6 separate regions of the Homo sapiens genome follow, and all the other regions are linked to region 1. The links are contacts of gene promoters, found by promoter capture Hi-C in blood cells and fetal thymus (Javierre and others, 2016). All regions are on one chromosome and are shown on one strand. The core of a region is centred on a gene start or on the middle of the fragment in contact, and the rest is flanking DNA. Distances in the headings are between cores, read along the strand shown. Region 1 holds the start of NOP14 (NOP14 nucleolar protein). Region 2 holds the start of LRPAP1 (LDL receptor related protein associated protein 1). Region 3 overlaps MXD4 (MAX dimerization protein 4). Region 4 overlaps CFAP99 (cilia and flagella associated protein 99). Region 5 overlaps POLN (DNA polymerase nu). Region 6 overlaps ZFYVE28 (zinc finger FYVE-type containing 28).

The links. Contacts are between HindIII fragments. The CHiCAGO score rates a contact against its expected background, and 5 or more counts as called.
Region 2: a contact is called between the fragment with the promoter of LRPAP1 here and the fragment with the promoter of NOP14 in region 1, in 1 of 17 cell types (neutrophils). The highest score is 5.1, in neutrophils.
Region 3: a fragment that was not itself captured here is called in contact with the fragment with the promoter of NOP14 in region 1 in 3 of 17 cell types (neutrophils, fetal thymus and erythroblasts); the score reaches 8.2 in neutrophils.
Region 4: a contact is called between a fragment that was not itself captured here and the fragment with the promoter of NOP14 in region 1, in 1 of 17 cell types (neutrophils). The highest score is 5.9, in neutrophils.
Region 5: a fragment that was not itself captured here is called in contact with the fragment with the promoter of NOP14 in region 1 in 1 of 17 cell types (naive B cells); the score reaches 5.0 in naive B cells.
Region 6: a fragment that was not itself captured here is called in contact with the fragment with the promoter of NOP14 in region 1 in 1 of 17 cell types (neutrophils); the score reaches 5.1 in neutrophils.

Annotation. Positions count from the first base shown.
Region 1 is chr4:2,961,747-2,966,389 of GRCh38, reverse strand. It overlaps NOP14 (NOP14 nucleolar protein), which reads left to right and starts at 2,984. Exons shown (of 18, transcript NM_001291978.2): 1 at 2,984-3,265. The coding sequence starts at 3,071. It overlaps GRK4 (G protein-coupled receptor kinase 4), which reads right to left and starts at 2,819. Exons shown (of 16, transcript NM_182982.3): 1 at 2,268-2,819. The coding sequence starts at 2,319. RefSeq lists silencers at 2,147-2,196, 2,367-2,796 and enhancers at 2,259-2,792, 2,793-3,326, 4,357-4,426. The HindIII fragment of the contact is 6,609 bases long and covers 1-4,643 here.
Region 2 is chr4:3,529,652-3,534,280 of GRCh38, reverse strand. LRPAP1 (LDL receptor related protein associated protein 1) reads left to right here and starts at 1,859. Exons shown (of 8, transcript NM_002337.4): 1 at 1,859-2,072. The coding sequence starts at 1,869. RefSeq lists silencers at 1,620-1,679, 2,120-2,369 and an enhancer at 1,870-2,079. The HindIII fragment of the contact is 16,557 bases long and covers 1-3,958 here.
Region 3 is chr4:2,244,590-2,249,398 of GRCh38, reverse strand. MXD4 (MAX dimerization protein 4) reads left to right here. Exons shown (of 6, transcript NM_006454.3): 6 at 1-1,967. Among named protein-coding and RNA genes, the nearest start is that of MIR4800, 3.2 kb to the left of the region's middle. The HindIII fragment of the contact is 3,873 bases long and covers 922-4,794 here.
Region 4 is chr4:2,420,878-2,425,724 of GRCh38, reverse strand. The region is part of intron 1 of CFAP99 (cilia and flagella associated protein 99); the gene reads right to left. Among named protein-coding and RNA genes, the nearest start is that of CFAP99, 4.3 kb to the right of the region's middle. RefSeq lists enhancers at 611-1,199, 1,200-1,789, 1,790-2,379, 2,380-2,970. The HindIII fragment of the contact is 2,046 bases long and covers 2,348-4,393 here.
Region 5 is chr4:2,215,851-2,220,353 of GRCh38, reverse strand. All of the region lies in intron 3 of POLN (DNA polymerase nu), which reads left to right. Among named protein-coding and RNA genes, the nearest start is that of HAUS3, 24 kb to the left of the region's middle. RefSeq lists a silencer at 135-224. The HindIII fragment of the contact is 287 bases long and covers 2,630-2,916 here.
Region 6 is chr4:2,402,358-2,406,812 of GRCh38, reverse strand. All of the region lies in intron 1 of ZFYVE28 (zinc finger FYVE-type containing 28), which reads left to right. Among named protein-coding and RNA genes, the nearest start is that of ZFYVE28, 14 kb to the left of the region's middle. The HindIII fragment of the contact is 2,011 bases long and covers 2,077-4,087 here.

The DNA.
Region 1 (4,643 bases), core at 1,735-4,234:
CCCAGGCTGGAGTGCCGTGGCGCGATCTCGGCTCACTGCAAGCTCTGCCTCCAGGGTTCACGCCATTCTCCTGCCTCAGCCTCCCATGTAGCTGGGACTACAGGCGCCCGCCACCACGCCCGGCTAATTTTTGTATTTTTAGTAGAGACGGGGTTTCACCATGTTAGCCAGGATGGTCTCAATCTCCTGACCTTGTGATCCGCCCGCCTCGGCCTCCAAAAGTGCTGGGATTACAGCTGTGAGCCACCGTGCCCGGCCAAAACTTTCATTTTTCAAACTATCACTGTGGTCTTAGGTTTTGTGACAGAATCTGGTTTTATGTTATTTAGCATTTATAGAGCACTTGTATTTATCTCATTATCTAATCTCTGCAGCATTATAAGGAAGGCGGCTTGGTATAGTTCCTTTTTGTAAATTACATGCAGATAGGAAGGTAGTGTAAAAAGAAAACTGGCTTAGCTTCAATCTGACTTCCACTAAGGATGATTATTTTCCATGACCTATTTGGAGTTCACAGTCAGGGATAAGAGGCACAGTCAAATGCTCCACTGAAAATGGCTGCTGAGAACGCATACTGCTCTGGGACTCCCTGATTATCTTAAGGGAAAAAGATCCCATTCTCTTCCCACCCATTCTCAGTTCTTCTATTCAAAATAGTGTGAGTTGGTGCACAAAAATACTGAGAAGATGAAGTCTTTGTTTTAGACTTTTTTAAAGAGATGGTCTTGCTGTGTTTTGCCCAGGCTGGACTCTCCTGGGCCCAAGTGAGCCTTCCACCTCAGCTTCCAGAGTAGCTGGGACTACAAGCGTGGCCGCCACCTTCGGCTCCAGACTGTCCTTTAAATATGCATCGCCGGCTGCTGTGGCATCTTCAGTCGGCATTTACACTGTCCTGGAGCACAGTCCGAGCAGAGCTGCTCCATCACGCAAGGAAATAGAGGAAATCAGCAATTCCGTAAGAGTGACGGGGTGTGAAGAACTACCGTGGCTAGCACAGGGACTTGAGGTCCGAGGCTCTGTCGCCAGCTCTCTTGAGACGCAGGCAAGGGAGACATGAGGTCCGAGACAGAGGATTGCACAGAGGATTGTGGGGGTCTCCCGCTGAAGGGCTGGACCAACTGATGCTTTTGTGGCGGGATGCAGAGGACTAGAGAGACCAGCATGGGTGAAAACAGGAGGATATTTATGTTAAGGTACGCACCAGCTCAGTGGATTCACATCCAAAAAGCTGAGCCTTGAACAAAGACTAAGCAGGATTTTTATAAGCAAACTTACAGAAGCAAAACAAAGGCAGTTAATCATATAATGACAGGTCACATAATCTATAGCATAACTGATGACTTGGCATAACTTGTGGCCTTGCATAGCTGGTGGCCTTGTAGCTGCGTTGAAAGAAAAAACCAAGAACTGGCTAAACACAGATATTTGTCCTCTTTTTTTTTTTTCTTCACCCCTGCTCTGGAAGGGGGGTGTCTGGAGCCTATTCCTTTGGATTCGACTTCTCAAACAGAACAGCGTTATCTTATAACTGTCCTTAAAGTGAGCTTGCTAAGCAAAAGAAAACTTGTTCTTCTTTTCTTTTTAACCCTTGCCTTGCCACATTCTGGGCCTTGGCTTTTTCTTTTCTTGGAGTGAATGAATGCAGTACTTATTACTATTTTTAAATTTCTGCCTCACTTTAATAATGATAAAAGGCTGAATTTTTGCCAACTTGTCCATCTGTGACCACGTCGTGCTAAAGCACACTTGACACACCATAGAGCCTCAGATCAAACCTCAAAACCAAGCAGCTATGTTAAAAATAACATTGCCCTACAATCATTATCGGAAGGTTCTCGCCCAGAGTAGTTCCCAGGCTGCTATTCTTTGTCCCCCTTAAGACCATAAAGACGCCGTTCTTTTTTGGTGGGACAGGTTGTCCAACACAAGCAGGACACTGCCTGCCGCATCCTGAAGCAACACTGTCACCGAGGTCACACCGAGAGGACAGGACAAGGACACAGGGCAAGACTAAGAAGAGCAAAGCGCAGACTTCTCTCATCTGGGCCAGGAGATGGGGACTGGGACCTGGCCCGGGCAGCCTGACCACACTGCACAGACCCCGGCTCCGGCTCCGTGCAGATCTGGGTTCCCCCAGTGGGAGGTGTCGGGGCTCTCCAGGGAAATCGGGGTTCTCCGGGGATGTCGGGTTCCTTCAGGGGGGCCAGGGTTCCCCGGGATTCGGGGTTCTCTGGGGGGGGGGTCGGGGGCGCCTGCCGCGCACCCACCTTGACGCGCTTTCAGCAGCAGCGAGTTGGCCACGATGTTCTCGAGCTCCATGTCCTGGCGCCGCCGCCGCCGGCGGATTCTGCGAGACCGAGGAGACTGAGGAGGCGGAACAGGAGGAGACGCCGCCGCCCCCGTGCATAGCTCGCCGGGCACCACCCTCTCCTCGAGCTCCGGACACGATCCCGGGAGGCTGCTCCGCCGCCACCACTGCCACCAAGGGCGCCGCCGCCGCCGCCTCCGCAGGCCCTCACCAGCAGGGGAGCGGTCGGGGCGAGGGGAGGGGGCAGCCCGACCGCGGCGGGTCCCAGCTGTCACCGCTGCCGCGCTATCGCCCCGGTTCTTCTTGGCCCCATCGCCCTCGCCTCGCGCGCGCAACTCCCTCCTCAGTGCCCTGCCCCCGGGCAGCCCCGAGTCAATGCCGTGGCTCACTTCGGACAGGGGCTCACTGGCAGGGGCGCCCGCCGCGGCCGGCGACCCGCTCCCGGGCGGGCTCGGCGCTAACGGCTTAGCTGAAGAGGGAGCGCCCCTCGCCGCCGCGGCCGGGGCACTACAGCTCCCAGAAGGCCCTGCGCCAAGAGTACACGGCGGGCCGCGGCGCGTGGCCTGCTGGGAGTTGTAGTCGCTGAGCCTATCGGCGAGTAAGCCGAGCCTGCGGGCGCGGTGTTTACTTCTCGCGAGTCGGAGGTGCTGCGCTGTTCTCGCGAGACGAGGAAGCGGTTCCGCGGCCCGGCACGTGTCTTAGGGTAGCGCGCGCCTGTCTCTCTTCGGGTCTCGGGCCCTTGGGCGCAGCGGGGCGCGCGCCATGGCGAAGGCGAAGAAGGTCGGGGCGCGAAGGAAGGCCTCCGGGGCGCCGGCGGGAGCGCGAGGGGGCCCGGCGAAGGCCAACTCCAATCCGTTCGAGGTGAAAGTTAACAGGCAGAAGTTCCAGATCCTGGGCCGGAAGACGCGCCACGACGTGGGACTGCCCGGGGTGTCTCGCGCACGGGCCCTCAGGAAGGTAAGCGGGGGGCGCACGGGGAGCCGGAAGGCAGGATCTGGACCCCACGCTGCTCTCGGCCGGCTGCGTCCTTCTCGGTGCGTCGGTTTCCTCGTTGAGCGGCACAGGCCGTGACAGGCACACGGCACTGACTTGATAGTCCGAAAGCCTCTGCTGTTCTCTGAGCTGGAGTGACCTGGAAACTCTCGCCGTCTTGGAGACCCTGCACTCGTGTTATTTCGGCGACTCCTCCAACCGGGTCAGGCCGAGTCAGTCACTTCGGGCGGCGCCCTGGACCAAGCTGCTTGTTAACCCTTCCGCGTTTACTTTGAGCTCTGCAGGTTTGGGGACGGTGGATAGGGGCTGTGTAGGATGCTGCGTTTGATGTTTCATCGGCTCTCTCCCGAAGCGCGTAACCTTGTTCCTTGGGAAGTAACTCTATGGAAACTCATTGCTTCCTAGTTTTTTTAACTTTTTTTTTTTTAAATTTTCACTGAGGAACATACATTAGCAGGTTGGTGAAAAAATTAAGGCACAGAAAGGACAAGTGCATTTCCTAAGGTCACGCACCTGGTAAGGGCTGGGCATGCATTCACATTTCAATATCTACAAAGCCTTCTTGCTACCCCGAGCGCTTCTGTTTGACCTCGCTTCTAGGTTCGGGGAGATAAAGGTAAATAAGACTTGCCCTTGCCTTCATGAGCTCCTGATCTCTGTTCATCACAGTGTGCAAGCTGGATGGTCTTTGAATCAAAACACATATTATCCTTACTGCGCGAAGACGACAGCCTGTATAATGAATAGGCAAGATAGACTTACAGCTGACTTCGATAGGAGTCCCTCATTACACACCCCCGGGCCGGGGTGGGAGAATAAGGTAGTGTGGTTCCCTAGAAGAGACACATTTGTCTTCACCACTGAAGCCTCAGTTTTCTCATTTCAAAAGTAGAGATGATAGTATACATCCTACCCCTCGTGGTGGTTTGTGAGAATTAAGTAAGATAGCACATAGAGCACACAGCAAGTGTTCTCTAAATACTGTTATTCTTAACCTTCTTGGCTTGTCGTTCGAGTCCCGCACAGTCTGGCTGTTGTCCTTGCTTCGCCTCTTGCAACTCAGTTTGTCCAAAAGGTCTGCCTTACCTCCGAAAGTCTCTAAAGGGCCAGCTCAGGTTCACCACCCAAGCTATGTAACCCAAATAGGACAGGTTGCTCAAACTTCTGGTATTGAGCAGATCCACCTCCCTGCCCTGTGCTGAAGGCCTGGGACGGGGACGGGAATTGCTGCTCCTTTTTGGATCTCCAATGCTTGGCCCTTGGAAGAAACACAAATATTTGAAGAAATCAAAGATGGAACCTGAGTGCCTTAGGAGATCCCGGTCAGGAAAAAGTGTAATAG
Region 2 (4,629 bases), core at 610-3,109, 570 kb before region 1:
GCAGTTAGGACCACATTCCAGATGACCAACAGGGACATGCTTGGGGGGGATAGGCCAATTTGGACTATCCCCTTCTAAGCCCACCAAGACCTACCTGTAGCTCTCAGGAGTGGGGTCAGGGCAAAACATGTATGTGGGGTAAAACAGGTGACCTCTGATTCTAGGCACCAGGAGATGGAGAGAAGAGCAGGAACGAGGGAACACAAGGGGAAGGCAGGCACAGGTGAGAATCTAGGCCAGGCTCACCTGGCCATTCTGTCCTGAGGCTTAAAAACATGCAATGATGGCAATGACAGCATTTGATCTGTCTCTGGAGTCACTTCGCATGAGGTCATTCTCCCTCCACCACCCTCCTGGGGGATTCCTTTACCTCCTCTCCCCCATACATCCCATATTGGGAACTTGTGCTTCCAGCTAAGATGCAGTAACAGACTGAATTTACCCTCTTGCCTGAAACAACTCAACAGCTGGAAAAAAAGAAATGAAACGATGGCTCTGAAAATACTAGAAAAGCAGCACAGGACAGAAGCAGATCACCTTGATTCCAGGGACCTGAAATCTTCTCTGGAACAACACAAGATACAATTTAAATGTAAATTAGGGTAGGCCCAGTGGCCCACGCCTGTAATCCCAGCACTTTGGGGGACCAAGACGGGAGGGTTGCTTGAGCCCAGGAGTTGGAGAACAGCCTGGACAACATAGGGAGACCTAATTTCTACCAAAAAATTTCAAAAATTAGCTGGGCGTGGTGACACGCACCTATAGTTCCAGCTACTTGGGAGGCTGAGGCAGGAGGATCGCTTTAGCCCAGGAGGTCGAGGCTGCAGTGAGCCATGATCATGCCACTGCACTCCAGCCTCGATGACAGAGACCCTATCCCCCCACGCAAAAAAAGGAAATGAATTAACATTAATTCCTCTCAAGATGCCCAGGCTCTATTCACCCCCTTTGTCATTGTCCCTCCAGTTGGAAATTCCTCCCTCCCCCCGCAAAATCCCGCCCACCCTTGGAGGCCTTTTCAGATCATTCTTGCCAGATGAGCTCCCCTTGTCCCTTCTCTGAGCCCAAAGGGGCCCAGCTGCTGTCTGTCTCCCTCCTTCCCCTTGTTTCCCGCGCTACCTCCAGGGCACTTCCCAACTCACTGGCCAAGCCCCCAACGAGCGGTCTATGCTAACTTTGGCTCTGTGAATTTCCTAGAGTGTCATGGGTTGGGGAAAAGCGCGCGAAGTCCTGCCTTGCAGCAGGCGCGAGAGCAGGCGCTTGGGACGCGGGTTGGGGCAGGGGCCCCGGGACGTAGGGGGACGTCTGCGCGGCCCTGCGTCCCCGGGACAACCTGGCCTGGGCTTACCCACGGCCAGGCGCTCCGCGGAGGGCAGAAGCGGGCTGGGCCAGGCTCCTCAGCGCCAGGCCCGGGCCGCAGTGCCAACCCCGCAACGGCACTGGACATGCAAGAGTCGGCGTCAGTGCGCGTGAAGCCGGAGCATTATCAGGCTCAGCCAAACGCGGCCCGGTTCTTGGGCTTTCCGCTCTTTCTGTGGGGCAGAGAGGGAAAGAGGCCTCGAGTCGTGCGGGCTCCAGGCTCCGGGCTCTGGGTGAGGCCTGATCCCTGCTCCCACCCGGCCACCCTCATTCTCCAGTTGTATCCCCTGCCAGAGTCTGCAGCCTCGGGCCGCGGCGTGGTTGCCTGGGAAACGCTTGCGCCTGCGCAGGGCTTCCTAGGCGCTGGAGTCCGCCGGCGGCCTCGCCGCTGCCGGCCGCTCACGGAGGAACTACAATTCCCAGGAGACCGCGCGGTGGGTGGGGGCGGGGTAGTGGGCGGGGCATCGGCAGGCTAGGTTTTCTCCGCGCAGCGCCAGTCGCAGAGGAAGATGGCGCCGCGGAGGGTCAGGTCGTTTCTGCGCGGGCTCCCGGCGCTGCTACTGCTGCTGCTCTTCCTCGGGCCCTGGCCCGCTGCGAGCCACGGCGGCAAGTACTCGCGGGAGAAGAACCAGCCCAAGCCGTCCCCGAAACGCGAGTCCGGAGAGGAGTTCCGCATGGAGAAGTTGAACCAGCTGTGGGAGAAGGCCCAGCGAGTGAGCGCGGCCCGCGGTCGGTGGAGCGGGGCCTGGGGGCGGGGGCCGTGGTTGGGGTCGTTGGAGCGGGGCCCAGGGGTCGGAGGCGGAGGGGGGCGCAGCCGGGGCACCTGTGCCCTACGCGCCCTGTCCTTGGCACAGCCTCCCCCAAGTGTCAGGTGGGGCGCCCCGACCCCTTCTGCAGCAGGAAAGGTACCCGTGCCGGCGACGACGCCGTGTGAAGCAGGTGGCGGCCGGCACCCCGAGGGTCAGTGTCGCCCTCCCCAGCCTGGGCGGCCTGCTGACCCGAGCGTAGGGACAGAACCAGGCTAGATCACAGGTCTCCTGCCTCCCGAGCCTTTGCCTGTTCCCTCAACCTTATCTCCCTATGTGGGGAAACAAGAAAAACAAAATGTTGGGTAGAAAGACGTGTCCAGGGACAGAAGGAATCCCAGTAGCAAGCCCGTGCTTGTTCATTTGAGCGAGAAATGAGGAGGTGAGGAGATGGGATCGGTTTAGAGCACATAAAACGCGACCTTGGGAATGCTGAAAGTCAGTCTTAACAGGGCGCTCACCTGACCTCTCCTTCATTTGAGAGATGAGGGTACGGAGGCCCCGAGGGGAAAGGGCACCCCCAAGGTGGCTCGGCCGGTGGGGCCCCCCGGGACAACAGCTTCCTAATTGGTGCGTGACCCTGGGCCAGCTGCTCTCTTCATTAAGATACGGTTGCTTCATTTGTTAGGTGTTCCTGAAAACACCTGAAATGGGTGTTTTCGAACTATGCCGACCATCTGGGCCTCATTATCTCATCTCAAATGCAGGAGTCAGATTAGATCTCTGTCTCAATAGTCCAGTTTTAAGCATTCCTGAGTCTTTGAGAGGGAAAGTAAGTGATTTGCAGAATAAGAAGGAACTTTTGGAACGAAAAGGGAGAGGAGAAACAGGTGGGGGACAGACAGACGACAGACGGTTATAAGACTGCGTGGGGATGGGGATTGACGCCTGGGCATCAGCTCCACAGGCCCTTCCTGAACTGCTCCTGGGACCAGCAGTCAAGCCCCAGGCGTAATGTTCAGCCTGCGGAGGTGGGAGGTGGGAGAACGCTCTGGGCTGGAGCGGCAGGGCGGCTTCTTGGAGGAAGGGATTCTGGAGGGGCTGGGGACACGGCTGGGTTTGGATGTGTTGATGGCCTCCCAGCAGCAGGGAACAGGTGTGACCAGGAGCAGCCGGGATGCAGTGCTGCCTCCCCGTGCCCACTGCACTGGGCATCTGTTGAGTGGGTGGAGTCCCCCCTCCCCATGAGGAATGGGGAGCCCGAAATAGACTCCCTGACCGATTGGAGGTGGCGCTGAGGAAGTGCACTCGGACCCAGGAACCCCAGCGGCTCCCTTTTGGGTGCTGGCCCAAGTCTTCCACCTGCTCTGCAGGGCCGCCCTGGTGCGCTCCACCTTACCTCCAGCCACCTCCAGCTGGTCCTCTGTCTTTGTCAGCCCAGGCCTCCTGCAGCAATACACCTGCCCTCAGGCTGCCCCTGCACTGGTCCAGCTACCCTCGGGCTGCCCCTGCACTGTCCCCCGGTGCTGGGTGCTCGCCTGACCAGTTTCAGTCTTGGGTTGGGTCATGTCTCCTAAACCTCCCTGAGGTTCACTGGGCACCATGGTAGGGCGAGCTGCTCACCTCCACTTTGGACTGAGCCTTGGACTAGATGATCTTTCTGGTCCCTTTAAGTCCTGAAGTTCTAGTTGTGTGGGCAAGTCTTTTTTGCTGAACAGAACGTGAAGTTCTTCGGGGGTGAGGGTGTTTTGGGGGATTTTGTGTGTCTTCCCCCATTCCAGAGAGCCTGGTACTATGGCAGGCAGGCCTGCAGAGCCCATTCGTCCTGATTTTCCTTCCAGATAACGGAAGCTTGGAGGGTGGCGGTGCTGTGAGGGTGTTCTATCCTGGAGCCAAGTGTGCAGGCGTCAGACCCGTCCGGGTCTTTTTGAGGTTCTCAGTGGCGGTAGTGCATCCCGGGTGGTCTTTGTGCTGTGGCTCTTTCTGCCGAGCGTGCCAGGGCCCAGGGTGGTCAGGAGGCAGGAGGAGCCACAGTCAGTTCAAACGTAGGGGGAGAGAATTGTTCGTGCAAATAGTCACTCCAGTCGGCTTCTTACCCCACCTGACTCGCCGCTCTAGGTAGGTATCAGACGGAGACGGGGTCTTGGATCGCCCCCTGGAAGATAATTGAGGTGAGGGCTGCTTTTTCAGAGAAGCACTTCCTGCCCGGCTCTGCAGCCACTGCTCTCAGCCTCCTGCGACCTGCGCTCAGCAGCCAGGACGGTCTTGTCCTTTCTTTGGTTTGCTTCATGAAAACATCGTGTCCCTGTTTTCTGCATGTAAAGCCACATCCTGGCATATAGGATTGCGTAGTGTGTCAGTAGGCATAGGGTGAAGGGAGCGTTTCAGGAAACCTTTGCCTTTGATGGGCTTGGGCTGTGAGACCTGCGTTGAGGTTGCCGCCAAGAAGATGCTGAGACCCGCTTTCATCAGGCGAGACCCGGCCAGGGGGGTGCTGCTTCATCCTCTCCAGCAACTTGAATCT
Region 3 (4,809 bases), core at 1,609-4,108, 720 kb after region 1:
GTGTGCCGCCTCTGTTTCCTGTACCAGATTTTTGTATTCTATTTTCCTAGCTGTTGTTGCGTCCTTGTTTGCTGAGGGGTGGGAGCCACCCAGCGTCTCAGGGACCTGTCCCTCCGTCACGTCGTCAAAGTGTGCCTTGTGTCTTGTGTCAGGCCTTGCCCTTCCCACCAGCATGTCCCTCGTGGCTCAGGGTGCCCCAGGCCTGCCCAGCTAGTGCTGTCCTCCCATCTCCTGTGGGCAGCCCCTCCCGGCAGCCAGGGCTTCCTGGAGGCGATGCAGCCAGGCCCCTGTGGGTGGCACGGAGGGGCTGTGACCTGGTCCCCAGTGTTGCCCTCCCCAGTGGCTGGCAGGGGCCTGCTTGCTCACTAGAGAGATGGATTCTCACCTGTCACCTGACTCGAGCCCCCTGCTTCCTGGCCTAGGCGAGGGTTCCAGGTTTCAGACACTGGCAGCCAATGAAGACTGTGCTCGCTGGGTGGTGCAGGCCTGGCACCAGGAGGCTTGCACCCGCCTTTCCTTCCTGACGTCCTCTGTCCTTGGGGCTGGCCCATAGCAGTGCCTGCCGTGCCTCTGGTACATCTGTAGCCAATTCCCATATCATGGGGAAAATTCGTGTCTATTTTCAGTCGTACGCATAGACGCCCCAGGATGGGGGGCCCACTGTGGCGGAAGGGGGTCCCTGGAAACAACTCTGGCACAGAACCTGCCCTGCAGGCTGTAGGGGGCATGGTGCCTGGAGCTGAGGGGCATCCGAACGCGTTGCGGGTGGTTGTGAGGAGGCCTGTCTGCATCTCCTTCCGGCCCCACTGGGGTCCAGGGGTGCCCAGAAAGGAGCTTCCCCTGCCTGCCTGAGTCTGTCCCCCCAGGCTTCATTTCAAACACCGTGGCACCTCCGAGCAAGGCGGGCCGTGTGTAAAAGCTTGCTTCCCCAGCCAGCACTGCAGGGCCCTGAGGTGGTCGTGTCCCTGCCCTCAATTCTTGAAGCACCAGCTCCCTGCCCCACCCTCCAGTGCCTGAGGCAGCTAGGGGCTTCTGCTCTCATCTCTGACCAGCAGAATCCACCCGGTGACCAGTGGTGGCCCCTCAGCCCACCCTCCCGGCAGCTCAGCCTGTGGCTCTTGAGGCCGTGGTTCCCACGTGGACTGGGAGGCAGTCTCAGCCACCCGGGGTGCTGTTCAGCTGCCCCTCCCTGCCATCAGCAGGTGGGTGAGGGGTTGCCCACTGGGTGGGGGCCCGTGCTAGGAGTCACCACATGCTCCAACCTCCCACTGCTCCCTGTCAGGGGCCCAGGCTGCCATCACTGGAGGCTGCAGGGACCAAGAGGCCATCACCGTGTCTATAGAGAGCAGACAGAAGCAGAACAGAGCCCGGGGCTCCTGAGCCTCTGCGTGTGCCCTCCCAGCCCACACCAGTGCTCTCGGCCACTGAGCACCCAGACTCAGGCTTGGGTTCCCCAGCCTTATTGGAAGGCAGCTCCCGCATACCAGGATAACCCCCGCAAACCACATAGCAGACCCCCGCCATCCTCGCAGAGTGGGAGAGGCTGCAGCAAGGCTTTGCCTCTGCAGACCCCATCTTAGTGGCACGGTGCTTGGGCCTGTGTCCCCGGGTGGTGGAACCCTGTACCGGTCTGTGGCCCTAGGGTCCCTGCTCTGTCTGCCCCGGCCCGTGCTGTCCGCTGGGTGAGGCAGGCTCCCCCGTGCCCTGCCTCCCTCTGTCAGGGAACCTGGGACCCCCTCCCCACTGCCTGCACAGAGGACCCTGACCCTCGGCCAGCAGGGTGGCCCCAGGTCCATGTTGGGCACTAGGGCAGGTTCCGTGCCAGAGTCGGGGGCCACACGAGGGCCTGGTGCCGGTGAGGGGGGCGTGCGCTAGAGGGGGAAAGGGGCCCCCGGCCACCTGTCCACCGTGTGGGCCGTGCTGTGTCCTTATGTCATTGTAATATAAATACAGATTTTTATATCTCACCCTGCTGGCTCCGGCTCTTTCTGTGGTTGTCACTGTCAGCGTGCTTCGCGCCCTGCCCTCGGCCTCCAAGCAGAAAGCCTGGCCCAATGGCACCACGCCATGTGGCCTTCGGGCCGTGGCCCTCGTTGCCCTACCACAGCCTCTTTCCTGGGAGGCCTGACGGAGCACGGCACCCCGTGCCGCCAACCACACCGGGCCCGCCGTCACAGCTGCCTCCCTGGATGCTGTGGCGCCTGGAGCTGGGTGAAGGTGGGGTTGAGGTGGGCGCCCCCATGGGCCTGTTGGCCAACTGGATGCTCTTGTTGCTCTTGTCCCAGAGGCACTGGGACTTTGCCTCTGGCCCTTGTGCTGGGGCCCTGCTGGCCGAGGACAGCCCGCTCCCTGGGGTGCTCCGTGCCAGCCAGGAGCCCTCTGCACAGAGGCTGCTGGCTCTCAGAGCTGCACTGTGAGAATCGCTCTGTACCTGTTCCCAGAACTACCTGGGCACGGCTTCTGCTTCCTGTCATGGGGACCTGCCGTGCTGAGGTGAAGCGAGATGGTGTAGCCAGCTGTCCCCTTGTGCTGGTGGTGACCACGGAGACACAGGCTCCTGTCGTGCCCATCACGGGGTGGTTGTGAGGCGATGAGACTTCACGCAGTGGGGAGAAGAGGCCTTGTTCTCACCCAAGCAAGCCAGGCTGGCTGCCCGCTCCCCCACAGGGAGGCCTTTTGGAGGGAACCCCCTTGGAAGCAGAGACCTCTGATCTGCCGAGGGCCGGGGTTGGTGGGGGTGTGGGCCCAGCTACCCTGGTGCACAGGGAGGAGTCCTGGGGGCCCCAGCAGTGGGCAGCTGAGAGAGGACATGCCTGCCTTGAGTGCTGGAGAATTGATGGAGCTGGGTGGTCATACGGGGGGTCCTGAGTGTGAGGTCGCCACACTGTGCACACGGCAGCTATGCACTGGAGGTGGCCCAGTGGGACCCGCCAGCAGGTTGTGGGGTGGCCATGGAGGGTAACTGCTGGGGGCCTCAGGGAGGAATCTGAGCTCCCCTAACCCCCAGCAGCAGAGTCCGGATCGTTGAACCTGTGTGGGCCCCAGGGCCCTCGAGGCCATTAGCGGGGGCACCCCAGGAAAGAAAGCAGTTCCTCCTGGGAATGTGGCTGGGGCCTCAGAGACACCAGGATTTGGCCATTCATGTAAATGTGGACATTTAAATCCCAAATATTAGGATTTGGGATCACCACTACCGTTTTCTATCGAGGGCATGCAGGTGCCAGGGGCTGTGCCCAGTTCCATGTATGATTGGTGCCTGGTACCATCATGCTGGGCCCTTCTCACAGGTGGCACACTGAGATTTGGAGACGCACCCCTCCCCTGCTCACCAGGCTGGCGGGTGGGATACCTGGGACAGGACCCCTGTCCTTTGGGAAGCCCTTGATTCTCCCAGCAGAGTCCATCTCTGTTTTCCATCTTTGTGCTTGTTGGGTTACAGCAAGTCCCCCTCCAAGTAGGACCCTGCCTGCAGCCTCCTACCCACCCTCTTCTTGGCAGCCTGAATGACCTTAAAGGTCTCCTTGCTCACCTCCCTAAAGTCCTCCTCTGGGTCCCCATGGCCTCCAGATTAAACTGAAACACCGCGTTTTGTCCTTCAGCTCAGTCCGGCCCACCCCTGCCCTGGCTTCAGCCCCCACTCCCACCTGCTCCCTGCATTCACCAGCTCAGGCACAGCCTCCTCTGGGAAGTGGGCCCTGAGCCCCCTATATCCCTTCCCACCACATTTTTGCTGAGATTATGGTCACCCAAATTAGGCGCTGGAATCATCTGGGCTAATCGCCACAGGGCCTTCTCGCATTGCTCCTTCCTCCTTTCCTAGTCCTTGGCCAGGTCAGCCCTGTACACACTGGCCTCATGGGGATCTTTCTAGAATGTAAATGGTTATGCCACTGGCCTGCTGAGCCTCAGGGGTTCACAACTCCTCTTCCTGTCCTGAGGCCCTTTCTGACACCCCACCAGTCCCAGGCTCTGCTGCCAGCCCTTGTGGTTCCCATTCCTCCCCACTTCAAAGGCCCTCTCCACGTGGCCACCTTGGTGAATGAACTCTGTCACCTCCTTTGGGCTTGTGCTGACCCAAACCTGCTCCTGAGTCTGGGGACTGAGTTCTCGCTTTGTCACATGAATGTCAACAGGATGGAAAACAAACTCTTTCCCAACCCTATAGTCTTCTACTTTCTTCTTAACAGGAAGGATTAGTGGGAAGAATAGGAAGAAATGCCACTCCCTACTCAGCTGGAAACCCCGGAGTGTCTCGGACCCAGGCTAGTCATCAGGCCCCAGGCTTTGCCAGCTCCTGCAGCTCTCTCTGTCCAGCTCTCTCCTCCTCTCCTACATGCTGCAAGAGTGGTCCTGTATCTTGTCTCTTACCACCTTTTGTCATTTTTCATCTTGCAGAATTATGCTTCTAACACACATCTGAGAATTCACTCTCCTGCTTGAAAACAGCCCCCATTCTCCATTGCTTGCAGAATAGAGTCCCACAAAATTCATGGAAAACTACATCTAAAAGAAATAATCTTTAGCATCTGACTGTTACTTCTAAAGTTTAAAAACAGTCAGAAAAGATACTGTCCAAAACCTAAAATATTTTTTAATACTAATAGGAGAAAATCGCTTCCACAGGAAGGAGAAAAAGCAAACAGCAAAAACACTTGATCCTCACAGCTCTGTCTTTAGGTCTGTTTAGTCCATTATATTCTCATGGGCTTTTTCAGGGAGGATTAATTCCTGGGTTCCATTTATCTTTTGACCTTACTAAAACTCCAAATAATTTTGACTGCTGAAAAGAAAGCTTACCCTGGAAATACA
Region 4 (4,847 bases), core at 2,121-4,620, 540 kb after region 1:
CCTCAGAGGAGGCGGGGCCTGTCAGCAAAGGCCGTCATCCTTGGGTGTGGTGCAGGCCTGGGCTCCAGCTGGACTACGCAGGACAGTAGGGCAGCGCTGGGCAGAGGGGGGCCCTTCTCACCCTCCTCTTGCTCCATGACTGACCCACTGCTCTGGGCCAGGCTGGGCTTGAAGGGCCACCAAAGTTGGGGACAGTGGGAGCACCTCTCCTCTACCCTGCAACAAGCTAGAACAGCCCCAGGTAGCAGTCCCCAGACCTGGACCCTCCAGGCTGGGGACTGACTAAAAACATGCAAGCGACCCCCACCAACCACCACTGACACTGGAGGGTCCTTGGTGAGACACCGATCCTGGCCGTGCTGAAGGGTCCATGTTGACCTGCCCCCTGACTCTCTCCCTGGCCAAGACTCAGAGAGAAGGGGAGGCCAGGTGTCACCAGACACTTTAGAGAAATCTCTGACATGAAACATAGAAACCATAAGAAAAGAACCAGGAGAAAACGATGCACAAGGCAGGAAAAAGCCTAGAAACCAGGCACTGCCATGCAAGAGAAGAGGAGATACAGCGTCCAAGGAACAAGCAATGGCTGGAGAAAAAGAGAGGGCTCGTGAAAACCAAAATACGATGACAGAACTAAAAACATAAACAGGAGACGGAAGGTAAAGTTGAGGAAATCTCCCTGAGTAGAAAAAGATGAAGCTATAGAAAGTAGGGGAAAACGCTAAGAAAATCAGGGAACGATTCCTGAAGGTCCAAACCCCAATTAACAGGAGTTCCAGAGAGACAAGAGAGAGAAATAACAAGAAAACGCCCTAGAACTGAAGGATGCGGTCTTCTGGACGGACAAGGCCCACTGGCAGCTTAGCACAGGGAATGAGTCATGATATTTCAGAGCCAGGGACGCCCCGAACACGTTCAGTGCAGGAAGAGTCAGGGATGCAGAGGAGTCTCGGCTGGGGGTGCCCTGGGAAGCAGGGGCTGAACCCAAGTGACTGTCGTTGTGGGGAATTTCCAGGCTGCGATGCAGGTAGCCCCAAGGTGACACTGGCTGGCAGGACAAGGACAGAGCAGGAGGGCAGGGGCTCCCGGGGGTGTCTCCAGGAGGAGCACCTGGCATGTTCTGTGAGTGGGTTTAGCTGCACAGTTAGGGAAAGAGGCTGTGACGCTGGACCTGGCTAGGGATGGCATCAGCCCAGGGCCTGTGTCCCCACCTCCCTGCTGGCTGCACCACCTGAGGCCTGACATGGGCTGTTCTTTTTTTTTCTTTTTTTGAGATGGAGTTTTGCTCTTGTTGCCCAGGCTGGAGTGCAATGGCGTGCTCTTGGCTCACTGCAACCTCCATCTCCCAGATTCAAGCGACTCTCCTGCCTTAGCCTCCTGAGTAGCTGGGATTACAGGCACCCACCACCATGTGGCTATTTTTTGTATTTTTGTATAGCCACCATGTGGCTAATTTTTGTATTTTTTTAGGAGAGACAGGATTTCGCCATGTTGGCCAGGCTGGTCTCAAACTCCTGACCTCAGGTGATCTGCCTGCCTCAGCCTCCCAAAGTGCTGGGATTACAGGCGTGAGCCACCACGCCAGGCTGTCCTTTTAGGGGCTGCTTTAGGGACCAGCCTGGCTGTGCATGGACACAGAGGCCAGCAGGAGCCTCTCTCTAAGGAGGCCAGAAGAAAGGCCGCTTGGAATTTGGAAATCTGGCTTGAAGCCCTGGTGCTGAAAACAGGCCCTGGAGACCAGGCCTCCCAGAACAAAGCGAGCATGAGCCTCTGGCACAGCCAGGACCGTCACTGCCCGGGAGCCTGCCCTGGGCCCCGGCTGGGTCCCCCTCCCCCCACCCCATGTCTGGAGACCAGCAAGGCTGCCTGGAGGTGCGTTCCTGCGCCAGTGCGGTCCTGATGATTCGGGGCAAGGGAAGAGACAGTGATGCTGCTGGCTTGGAGAACACCAGATCAGAAGCCATTAAACCCGCAAATCCACAGATGCTGAAATCTAGATGCTGCAGCCAGGCTTGCCTGGGCAAGATGAGAGAGGTTTGTGGGTGAGGCTGCCCAGACCCTCTGAGGGTTCCCACCCCCTTCATGGCCTGCCCCTGGGGACCTGCCACCTAAGCTGCCTCAGCCCATCCTGCGGGAAACCTTTGCTTCTTGGAAGGCTGGGCCATGGAAGAGAGACCACCCACACCCCACCCCAGCCTCAGGGTCCTTTCACTCTCCTCTGATCCCCTCTAGCTGAGTCTCTGGCGTGGGGATTTCAACAGCTGTGAGCAGAAAGGCCCAGGAGGCCCACTGAGCACCCTCCCCTGAGCCTGCCAAGGCAGGAATACTCAGGGCAGGGCCTTAAGCTTGTGACAGGCTCACCCTAAGTCCCTGCTCTCTCTGAATTCAGCCCCTCTCCTCGGGAGGGTCCCAGCAGGCCAGGCCACCAGTATGGCAGGGGTGCGGTGCGGTGTGGTGCAGTGTGGGCGTGGTGGCCAACCCTGGTGGGTAGGTGGATCCAGGCAGCCATAACACAGCCAGGGGGCAATAGGCTGCTGGCAGCAGGAAGCACTTTTCTGGGGCATTGCTCTTTGGGGAGGGGGGACTTGTGGCTTTCACTCCAGGCATTGCTGAGAGCAGTGGGGGCTCCCTGTAGGCAGTGAGCTCACAGCTCACAAATCCCACTCCCCATCTTCGCCAGGGTCAGCCACACTGAGACGTTTTTTAAAACTCCACAGCGTAACTGGGGACTTCTCTACAAAAAAATTAAAGAATGACTCAGGTGTGGTGGCACGCCTGTAGTCCTAGCTCCTTGGGGGGCTGAGGTGGGAGGATCCCTTGAGCCCAGGAGGTTGAAGGTGCTTTGGGCTATGTCTGTGCTACCACACTCTAGGCTGGGTGACACATTGAGATCCTGTCTAATAAATAAATGTAAAGGTCTACTTCTAGAGAAACAATGTTAAAGAGTGAGTTTTCTTGCCCTGCCTCCACGTCACGTTGTGGGTCAGGCTGCCCTGGGATGGGGTCCCCTTGCCCCAGCCTTTTTGAATCTGCTCTGGATACAGCTCTGCCTGGAGGAACAGGGTATACACCCAGGAAAAGGGCCCCTTCTTGCGCCTGGTGGGGGCGGTGAGAGTGGATGGTCTGCATGTGTGTGGTGGGAGCTGCTGCCAAGGTGGAACAGTTTCCCTGCCGTCTCCCCCTGTCCTGGAGCTGGAGCATTCTGGAGAAAGGATGATCCTAGGTACCCTTTGGTGATGCAAATCGAGGAGGAGGAAGAGGGCCATGCCAAGCCCGCCCCCCAATCCAGGGCGGACCTGGTAGGAATGAACTGGAAGGAATAAATGGACAAACCAAGTTGAAGATGGGGACGGGGGTGAAGAGCTCCTTTGGAGTCCAGCCTGACTCAAATTGTCCTGCCCTGCCCCTGGAACCCTGGTTCACTGTCCGGCCTGAAGGTCCCTGGGGCGGGGCCTCTGCACCCCTGAATCTGGCGCAGAGCAGGTGTATGTGAAGGTGAATGTAAGGAAAAGAGATGCTTGAATTCTGAATCCCACTGAAATTAGCCTAGGAACTTCATCAAAACAATCACCTCTTTGGGGAGGAAATAGGTACTAAAATTCATCCAACTGTGACGCCTGCTTTCAGCATCTCAGCTACATTCATGCATTCTCAAATTCTCAGCCTGATTTTATTTTTTTCCTGATTTAGGGTCTCACTCTGTCACCCAGGCTGGAGTGCAGTGGCTCGATGATAACTCACTGCAGCTCAAGTGATCCTCCTGCCTCAGCCTCCGGGGTAGCTGGGACTCTAGGCATGTACTACCACGCCCGACTAATTTTGTGCTTAATTTTTTTTTTTTTTTTGTAGAGACAGGGGTCTTACTATGTTGCCCAGGCTGGTCTTGAACTCCTGGCCTGAAGCGATCCTCCCACCTGAGCATTCCAAAGTTCAGCTTTAATAGTGAAGTACCATCTATGTGGGAAGTGGGATTTAATTCTCAAGTTTAAAGATTTTTTTCTCATATTGATTTTAACTCCATTGATCAGGACTTGACTATCTTATATTTAAGGCAACTTTAAAGGTGGGCTGGACTAGGCTGGGCGCGGTGGCTCATGCCTGTAATCCCAGCACTTTGGGAAGCCAAGGCGGGCAGATCACTTGAGATCAGGAGTTCCAGACCAGTCAACATGGTGAAAACCCATCTCTACTAAAAATACAAAAATTAGCCAGGCGTGGTGGCAGGTGCCTGTAATACCAGCTACTTGGGAGGCTGAGGCAGAGAATTGCTTGAACCCGGGAGGCAGAGGTCGCAGTGAGCTGAGATCGTGCCTCTGCACTCCAGCCTGGGCGACAGAGCGAGACGCCATCTCAAAAAAAAAAAAAAAAAAAAAAGGGTGGGCAGACTAAAGCTTCTCTTTCCTTAGGAAATATTTTATAGACACAAATGAGATTATATGAGGAGGTTTAAATTCCATCAGACACAAAACAGCTCAACACTCTCAACCACTAGGAGATAACTCATTTACCTAAGATCTCAAATGTATGTTAATTAAAATATAGTCTTTTCTCCCGATTAAAGCCAGTCTCCTAAGGGTTGCTACCAAGTCATGCCCCTATGGCTTGTGCTTAAAGCACAACCCCACGTGGCAGCTTTTGCTAGTTGCTTTTCAATCTCCACTACCCCTTTCCTCCCAAATAAGAAAACTCTGATTTTTAGCTGGGTCTACTGCTGCCCAATTGAAAGATGGCATTTCCCAGCCTCCCTGGCAGCTGGGGCATGGTTGTGTGGCTAAGTTCTCCCACCACCTTCAAGAAGTGGAAAGGTGTGAGACTTCTGGAAAGTCTCCCTGAACGAGAGAGGCATA
Region 5 (4,503 bases), core at 1,524-4,023, 750 kb after region 1:
GCTAGAATGTCTGCAGAAGTAGCTGGGAAGTGGCCAGTGGGGCTGCTCATGGGTGTCTAGTACACTGGTTAAGAGCTGCAGGAGCAAGAAGAAAGGAAAGCAAAGCAAAGCACAGCAGAGGCCTCATCTCTGACAGCGTCCCTCTAGCACCCTCTGCTGACGGAGCTTAACATCGTGCCAGGTGGCAAAGGAGGTGTATTTTCTGTAGGGCGTGGGGTGCAACGAGGGGTGAATTTGTAGCTGAGAGGCGAATTTGTAGCTGGGAGACAGTATGTTGATAACTGGCACAGGGACGAAAGAGATTCTACTCCAAAGGAACTGCAGGACCTAACTGGCCATATACAAGCAGGCCTGGGAGAGTACCTATGGTGGGCTGGGTCTGAGGGTGCTGGATCAAGGCAGGTGGAACTAAGGTTGGATAAGGGAGAGTTTATTTATGCGGGATCACTTCAGAGACACTGGATTTGACAACCCGATGAAGATTCCAAGAGGTGGTGCCAACATACTGCTAGGATGGCTTTTAGTTCCTTGTAGGAGAGGGTTCATACTAAGTGAAGGAGAAAGATTAGAACTGCCAGGGCAGATGGTAAAAGAAGGCATGAAAAGCCAGGAGAGGTGGACATGCTAGAATGGCCATATTGTGGAGGGCTGGGAAACTCAGCAGGTAACATTGTTCTGCAGAAGGGCGCTCTGGATGCTCTATTTACCGAAGCAATAATGAAAGCTGATGAGGGAGTGGGGAGCATCGGCTTCACTGAGAATCTCAGTGGTGTCTGCTATAGACCAGGGCTGATAATAGGAGATGCCTCCTGATAACAGTCAGGGAGATAGGATCCTGACATAGAGGCCAGGTGGTGCTGCCTGTCAGAAGCAGGGTAGATACAGTTCTCGTAAAGTGACTTCAGACCTGGAACCAACTGACTGAAGGAGAGGCCAGGTCCCCAGGAGGAAGGATTATGCAACACCATAGTGAGTGTATATGGCAGTTATTTTTCCTGTCTTTCCGCCAGGGAAACCTGTGGCCATTTACTCTGGGAACTTATACAAGGGGGAAAGGGATACTGAAACATTCATATGATATTGATACCTGGAGACCTAAAGTATCATCATGGTTTCTCCGTCAGAGGCGCAAGGACTCAAGCAATAAATGGAACCTTGGCCCAGATTACACTATAATGGGAGGGCTCACTCCGAAGCCATTTTCCAAGTCCCCACATGTTATTTGGAATGAACAGACTGTTGGAAGAACCCTCAGGTACTGGCTCCTTGGCCTGAGGATGAGAGCTCTCCTAGTGAGTAAGCTCAAGTGGATGACGCTGAAACTGCCTTCCCAGCAAAGATAGTGAATTAGTATAGCAATATGGCAACCTAGGAGAAATGGCAGAAGTTAGTGCCATCCTTAAACCCCTACAGGATTCAGGGCACAGGGTGGTCCCTGTCATATGTTCATTTAATTCACCAGGTAGGTGCTCACAGAAGTCAGATCCTGGAGAATAACAATTGACACCACAAATAGTTGTGACCAAGTTATAGCCCTAATGACAGCTGGTGGGCTGGATGTGGCATATGCAATTAACAAGGCCTCAGGTATATGAAATGCAATTATTGATTTGGTGAACACATTCTTTTCCATCCCTGCAGAAATATTCACTCTGAATGGACAATATAAATTTGCACCTTGCCCCAGTGCTATGTTATCCCGCCACCCACTGTTTTGATGACATCATGCCAATCAGCATAAGCAAGAAATGGCAAGTTTGTTAGCTGTCTTGCTGTCCAAAACATGGGAGATAAGCACACAGATATTCTGGGGCCCACCACAACCATGAAGTTTTTGGAAGTTCAGTGGTCTGAGGATAGGTAGGATATCCCCTTGCAAGTAAAGGACAAATTAGTGCCTTTTTTTTTTTAAGGCAGTTTCACCCTTGTTGCCCAGGCTGGAGTGCAATGGCACAATCTCAGCTCACCACAACCTCCGCCTTCCAGGTTCAAGCGATTCTCCTGCCTCAGCCTCCCAAGTAGCTGGGATCACAGGGATGCGCCACCATGCCTGGCTAATTTTTTTTTTTTTTTTTTGTATTTTTAGTAGAGACGGGCTTTCTCCATGTTGGTCAGGGTGGTCTCGAACTCCCGACCTTAGATGATCCGCCTGCCTTGGCCTCCCAAAGTGCTGGGATTACAGGCATGAGCCACCACGCCTGGCCACCTTTTTTTATTTTTTATTTTTCCCCAAGAGACTGGGTCTTACTGTGTTGCTCAGGCTGGCCTCAAACTCTTGGGGTCAAAGTGATCTGCTTCAGTCTCCCGAGTAGCTGGGACTACAAGTGCACACCTGGCTAAATTACTGCATTTTTAAGAATGAAGCATTAAGAATGAAGATGTTAACTGGTCGAGTCATCCTGCAACGTGGTTAACCACATAACCATTAAGAGTGAACCATAACACCTGATAGGCATCTCTGGGTTTAGGGAGTGGAGGCAGCATATTCCACATTGGGAATACTGCATAGGAAAGCATCCTGTAAGAGGCCTAGGCTGTGAAGCAAGTGGCTCAGCTACTTGGACTTCCAACCCAACAGACCTTGTGATGTTAGAGGTATCTGTAGTGGGGAAAGATGCCATGTGAAGCTTAAGGCAAAGCCCCAACAGAAGAATCTCAATGCAGACTCCTAGAACTCTGGAGCAAGGCAATGCTATCTGCAGAAACAAATTATAAATTTTTCAAAAACAAAACTGTCATGCTACTGGGCCCTGGTAGAGATGGAGCGTGAGGCCATGGTGACATCAAGTGACCATGAGCCAGAACTGCCAGCATGAGCTGGTTCTGTCAGACCCACTGAGAGGTGGGCATGCAGCTGTCCATTGCAAGTTGGAAGTGGCTCATTTAGTACTAGGTACAAGCAGGCACAACCAAGCTTTTCATGTGGCCCAGAACCCATGACATCATTGGTGCTGGCACTGGTACTTCTGACGGGGGCAGCCTTAAGACCAGCTGATGGAGGCAGGAAAAGTTAGAGCTTGGTTCATGGTGGGTGGGCTCTGAACAGCCTGATTTAGGCAGCCCTGGAAGACAGTGCTCAAGGGAAACCCAATGGGTAGAACGTTGGGTGGTGCCCCTTGACTATCTACTTTGTGTGGAAGGAGAAGTGGCCCCAGTGTTAACACATTTGGAACTCTTGGGCAGCGGTTAGTGGCTTGACAGGTTGCTCAGGTACCTGGAATGAGAAAGATTGGAAGATCAGGGAGTTCCTGGAGTAAGGCATGTGGAGGGATCTGTGGGAACAGTCACGAAGTACTTCCCACCCAAGAACATTCACCATGGGGACACACCAAACCACCACATTAATAGGATGACTTGGCCAGTTGACATCTAGCCTCTGCCATCTGCTGCGCCCATGCTGGCACACTGGGCTCTCTCATGGAGTAATCATGGGGTGGGTAGATGCTGTGCATGGCCCATAGCATGGGGCTCCCCCTCACCAGAGCTGACCTAGCTATTTCTCTGCAGAACATCCAATCTTCCAGCAACAGAGACCAAACACTGAGTCCCCAGTTGTACCTTCCTTGGAGGGAAACAGTCATTTGACAACACTGAACCCCTTGTGCCCTAGAAGGTACAGTGATTCATCTTGGCCAGAACCAACACACGTTACAGGCATGGGTTTGCCTTTCCCATTCTCATGGATTCAGTCAGCTCCATCACCCAAGTTTCACAGAGTGTTTGATCCACAGGATCCTGCGCTCAGCCAAGGAACTGCAGCAGTGGGCACATGAGAGTAGGACTCACTGTCTCCCTCACAGCCACACACCAAGAAGCTGCCAGCCTGATGGAGCAGCAGGATGGTCTGTGGAAGGCACAGCTCACCTCGTGTGCAGCCTGGAGGTGACACCTGTGATGAAGCAGTCACCTCCAGGGTGCAGTCTGCACTGCAAATCACTAACCAGTACGTGGTGCAGTGTCCTTGGTTTGTGTAATAAATGGGTCTGGGAACCAAAAGGTGAAAGTCATCACTCCCAGTGACCCACTTAGAAATCTGTATTTCTCCCTCACACTCCTCTGGGTTCTTAAGGTTTAAAGGTCTTGACTCTCAAAGGGAAAACCTTTCCAGCAGGGGCACAGGAAGAACGCCATTTAATTTCCAGCTGTGGCTGCTGTCTGGTCATTTTGAGCTCCTTGTGCCAAGAGACTGGCTGGCAAGGAATGTAATTTCCATCTTCTGGGGTGGCTGACCGTGGGCGTCAGGTGGAGGTAGAGCTGTTACTACATAACTGGGGGCAGGGAAGCACCCAGGTGATGTGATTGGCCACCTCATGGTCCCCTGCCCAAATTTGATGGCAAATGCTGGGGCTATGGCCAGAGAAGGGCATGGTGGCCAGGGGCTTACCTCTCAGGGATGAGGGTTTGGGTTACCTGATCAGGTAAGCTAAGCCACCTAGAGCAGCAGAGGAGATAGGCAAGGGTGAGGAGTTAGCATGGGCAGTAGAGGAGGGAGATGAATGTAAT
Region 6 (4,455 bases), core at 1,833-4,332, 560 kb after region 1:
GCAGCAAAGCAAAAGCACAACAAACAAAAAGCAAAAACTAAAGCTGTAGAAATAATTGCACGTAAGTCAGGCATCACAGGGAGTGGAGCAAATCCACCTCCCAGACAGAGACTGAGAGTGCACCTGTGCGTTGAACAATCCAACCTTGTGCTGTTGACGAGAGATGTCCACGAGACAGCTTCCGCAGAAAGGCTGAAAAGAAAGGGGCAGAAAAGGTGAACCAGGCGTTTACCAAAAGCAAGGAGGTGAGGTTCTTTCTCCCTGTATCAGGTAAGCACGGCGCTCAAAGCAGAGTGACAGCATGTTTCCCCACAGGGAGGGGATGGCTTCCTGCTGCACACCATCGGCTCCCAGGCCTGGCTGCCCCACCTCTTTAATCCTGGTCTCAGTCACAGGAGCTCTCGGGCAGCCCCTTCTCAGTGTTTTGTTTTGTTTTTTTTTGAGACAGAGTCTTGTTCTGTGGCCCAGGCTGGAGTATAGTGGCACGATCTTGGCTCACTGCTACCTCTGCCTCCTGGGTTCAAGTGATTCTCCTGCCTCAGCCTCTCGAGTAGCTGGGATTACAGGTGTGCACCACCACACCCAGCTAATTTTTGTATTTTTGACAGAGATGGGGTTTCATCATGTTGGCCAGGCTGGTCTTGAATTCCTGACCTCAAGTGATTCACCTGCCTCGGCCTCCCAAAGTGCTGGGATTACAGGCATGTGCCACCATGCCCGGCTAATTTTCTTTCCTTTCTTTCTTTCTTTTTTTTTTTTTTTTTTGAGACAGAATCCATTCTGTGGCCCAGGCTGGAGTATAGCAGCGCAATCTTGGCTCACTGCAACCTCCGCCTCCCAAATTCAAGTGATCCTCCTGCCTCAGCCTCCCGAGTAGCTGGGATTACAGGCGCCTGCCACCATGCCCAGCTAATTTTTATATTTTTAGTAGAGATGGGGGTTTCACCATGTTGGCCAGGGTGGTCTCGAACTCCTGACCTCAGATGATCCCCCTGCCTTGGCCTCCCAAAGTGCTGGGATTATAGGCGTGAGCCACTGCGCCCAGCCAGTGGGCATTTTGAAACTGTTGAAAGAACCAAGAGAACCCGAGGGACAGTGACAGGAGTGCTGGCTGTCGGCCTCACCTGGCTCCTTCCTGACCACTCCAAGGGACGTGAGGTCTCAGAGACAATGGGCACGGGGGCCACTCTCCTGTGCCCCGGCCCCTTCCCTCTGACCTAGGGAAGGCTTCCTGGCCTGCAGATCTCAGAGCCTGGGCCTGCTCAAGGTTACAGCTCGGCCATGTGGCTGCCTGCAGTGGGAGCGGGGCACTGCAGGGAATGATGGGAAACTGTAAGTCTGCTCAGCGCACCCATCAGTCGACCATCAGCACAGTCGATCTGCAGCCTCCCACAGCGTCTGAAATCCAAGGAAGTCCCATTGGTCTTCTCAAATTTGGTCCAATTGGTGTGCTCCAGACACTTCTGAAAAGGCCAAGGACTGTGGGTGGTAAGGCCTGCCTCAAAGCTCACTGTGGGGAGAGAATGGAAAAGCAGGTGGCGGTGCACCCCATCTTCCCTTCGCGGTGCCGCTTGGAGTATGGGGAAGACACATGGCTTCTCTCCTGAAGGCCCCAGGCCCAGCACCGCTTTGTCCGGGCCACTCTCTGGGGGTATCTGGGGCTCACTTTGGAACTATCCAAGGATATGCCTTTGGGGACAAATTCGGCTTGTGGATGAGGTTAGTTATGGTTCATTTTTGTTGTTATATATATATTTTAATCTTTTAAGAGATTGAAGTGTGGCTGGGCATGGTGGCCTACGCCTATAATCCCAGCTACTTTGGGTGGCCAAGGGGGACGGATTGCTTGAGCCCAGGAGTTTGAAGCTGCAGTGAACTACGACTGTGCCACTGCACTCCAGCCTGGGCAAGGGTGACAGAGCAAGACCCTCTCTCAAAAAAAAAAAAAAAAAAAAGAGCGAGACTGAGAGGGTGAAATGCAGTGAATATATAGGTAACCATTGAAAGCAAACCATCAGTGATATTTCCTGTATTCGCAATGTGGTGCAGCCATTGGCTCTCTCTGATTTCAAAGCTTTTCCATCATCCCATATAAACACCCTGTTTCTATTATGTAGTCACTCTTCACTCACCCTGCCTCTGGCCCCTGGAACCTCCAGTTGGCTTTCCATCTCTGCGGATTTGCCTGTTCTGGACGTTTCGTATAAAAGGAGTCATATGCTGTGGGGCCTTTTGTGTCTGGCTTCTTCCAGTTTCATCCATGTTGTAGCATGTGTTAGCATTTCATTTTTATGGCTGAATAATATTCCATTAGTGGACAGACCACTTTTTGTTTTCCATTCACCTGCTGATGGACATTTGGGTAGTCTCCATTTTTGGCTGTCATGAATGACACTGGCATGAGCGTGTGTGTTCGAGTCTTTGTAATTTGATTCTCTTGGGGAGGTGCTTGGGTGGAATTACTGTGTAGCTCCATCTTCAGCGTTTTTTTTTTTTTTTTTTTGAGGCGGAGTCTCGCTCCGTCCTGCAGTGGCGCGATCTTGGCTCACTGCAGGCTCCGCCTCCCGGGTTCATGCCATTCTCCTGCCTCAGCCTCCTGAGTAGCTGGGACTACAGGCACCCACCACCATGCCTGGATAATTTTTTTTGTATTTTTATTAGAGACAGGGTTTCACCGTGTTAGCCAGGATGGTCTCGATCTCCTGACCTCGTGATCCGCCCGTCTCAGCCTCCCAATGTGCTGGGATTACAGGTGTGAGCCACCATGCCCGGCCCATCTTCAGCTTTGAGGAACTGCCAACTGCTTTCCCCATTGTGATTCTTTTTTTTTTTTTTTTTTTTCCGAAATGGAGTTTCGCTCTTGTCACCCAGGCTGGAGTGCAATGGCGCAATATCTGCTCGCTGCAACCTCTGCCTCTCGGTTTCAAGCTATTCTCCTGCCTTAGCCTCCTGAGTAGCTGGGACCACAGATGTGCACCACCACACCCAGCTAATTTTTTTTTGTATTTTTAGTAGAGACGGGGTTTCACCATGTTGGCCAGGCTGGTGTCGAATTCCTGACCTCAGGTGATTCACCTGCCTTGGCGTCCCAAAGTGCTGGGATTACAGGCGTGAGCCACTGCAGCTGGCTTCCACTGTGGTTCTTGACAGAGAGTGGGTCATCGGAGGCGGGGTCGGTGAGTGCTGAGAGGGGCCTGAGAGGGCATCTATGGCCCTGCTGTGTGCTATGGCTTTGAGCTGCCCCAGCCCTGGTGAGCGGAGTGCCCTGATAGGACTCCCACTTCTCCTGTGCTTGTAAATCAAGTCAAACCCCTCGAAACCACAGGCCTGGGGAGGTCTTCAGAAGTGCGCTATGTCCTCCCGCCACGATCCAGGGATGGCCAGGGCCGTGCTCCGAGAATTCTGGAAGGCTCATATTGCGTGTTGACACTCGTGTGTGTGACTGCATCTTTCTCTCAATGGAAGGTTCCACGCACTGCTTCCCACGCCCCCACTTGAGTGGCAGTGACAAGGTCCCACTAGTCCTTTGCCCATCTCAGATCCCTCTGCAGACCCGACGCTGGGGTACAGGCTTTTTCCCCTCCTGGGCTGTAGCCCTGGAAGTGTGGGGGCATCTGTGAGGAGCTGGGGCTCAGGGCAGCCCTGGTAGCTGAGGAGAAGGCAGCTGGGGCCACACAGGCTTGGGCCACAGCCCAGAGGGGTCATCAGGCGGCCACGGGGAAAGGACCTGTATTGTTCTGTGTGCCCTGCATTGTCAGAGAGGTCAGCATTGCACTTTGACTTTCCTCAAACACGGATAATGGCACGCCAGCCTCATGGAGACTCCCAAATGGGGATCCTGTTTCTGAGGGTGCTGGATGGGTGGTAGGCACGTCCTGTGAAGACCATGCTGGTGTTAGCTGACCGGGTCCTGAGCTAGGAGGAGGGGCCTTGGTGGAGGGGGCAGGCTTGGCCCTGCAGGGATGGGTCAGTGCTGCCCTGGTTTTCATGCAGTGAGAGGCTGACTGAGAGCAGAGTGAGCTTAAATTCCAGCACTGGTGTATCATTAGATGTGGGTGGGTAAATAGAGCACAAACGCACCTAAGCTTATTAGTCTGGTACAGCTGCTACGGTTTTTAATATTCCCTTCTAAGCCTTTTTCTTGGCATCTGTGTGAGTGTTGTTGTGCGACTGTCTACCGCGTTCCCTGCCCGCTCTCTGCTGTGTGGCTTCCGTGTTGTCTTCTGCCGGCCACTTCCCCGGGCTTTGTGGATCCGACTATGAAACAGTGATGCTGGCGCTGTCTTCCTCACATGCAGTCCTGGCTTGAGGATGTTCTGCTAGTTTTTGCCGCTGTTGCCTGCTCTGCTTAATACAGCTCTTGCTGACCCATCAGGACTTCTGGGGACCATAGCCAAGCAGAGGCTGCAGGACATGGCCTTCCAGCACCTTCTGCTCCTGCAGCGGGCGGGGCGG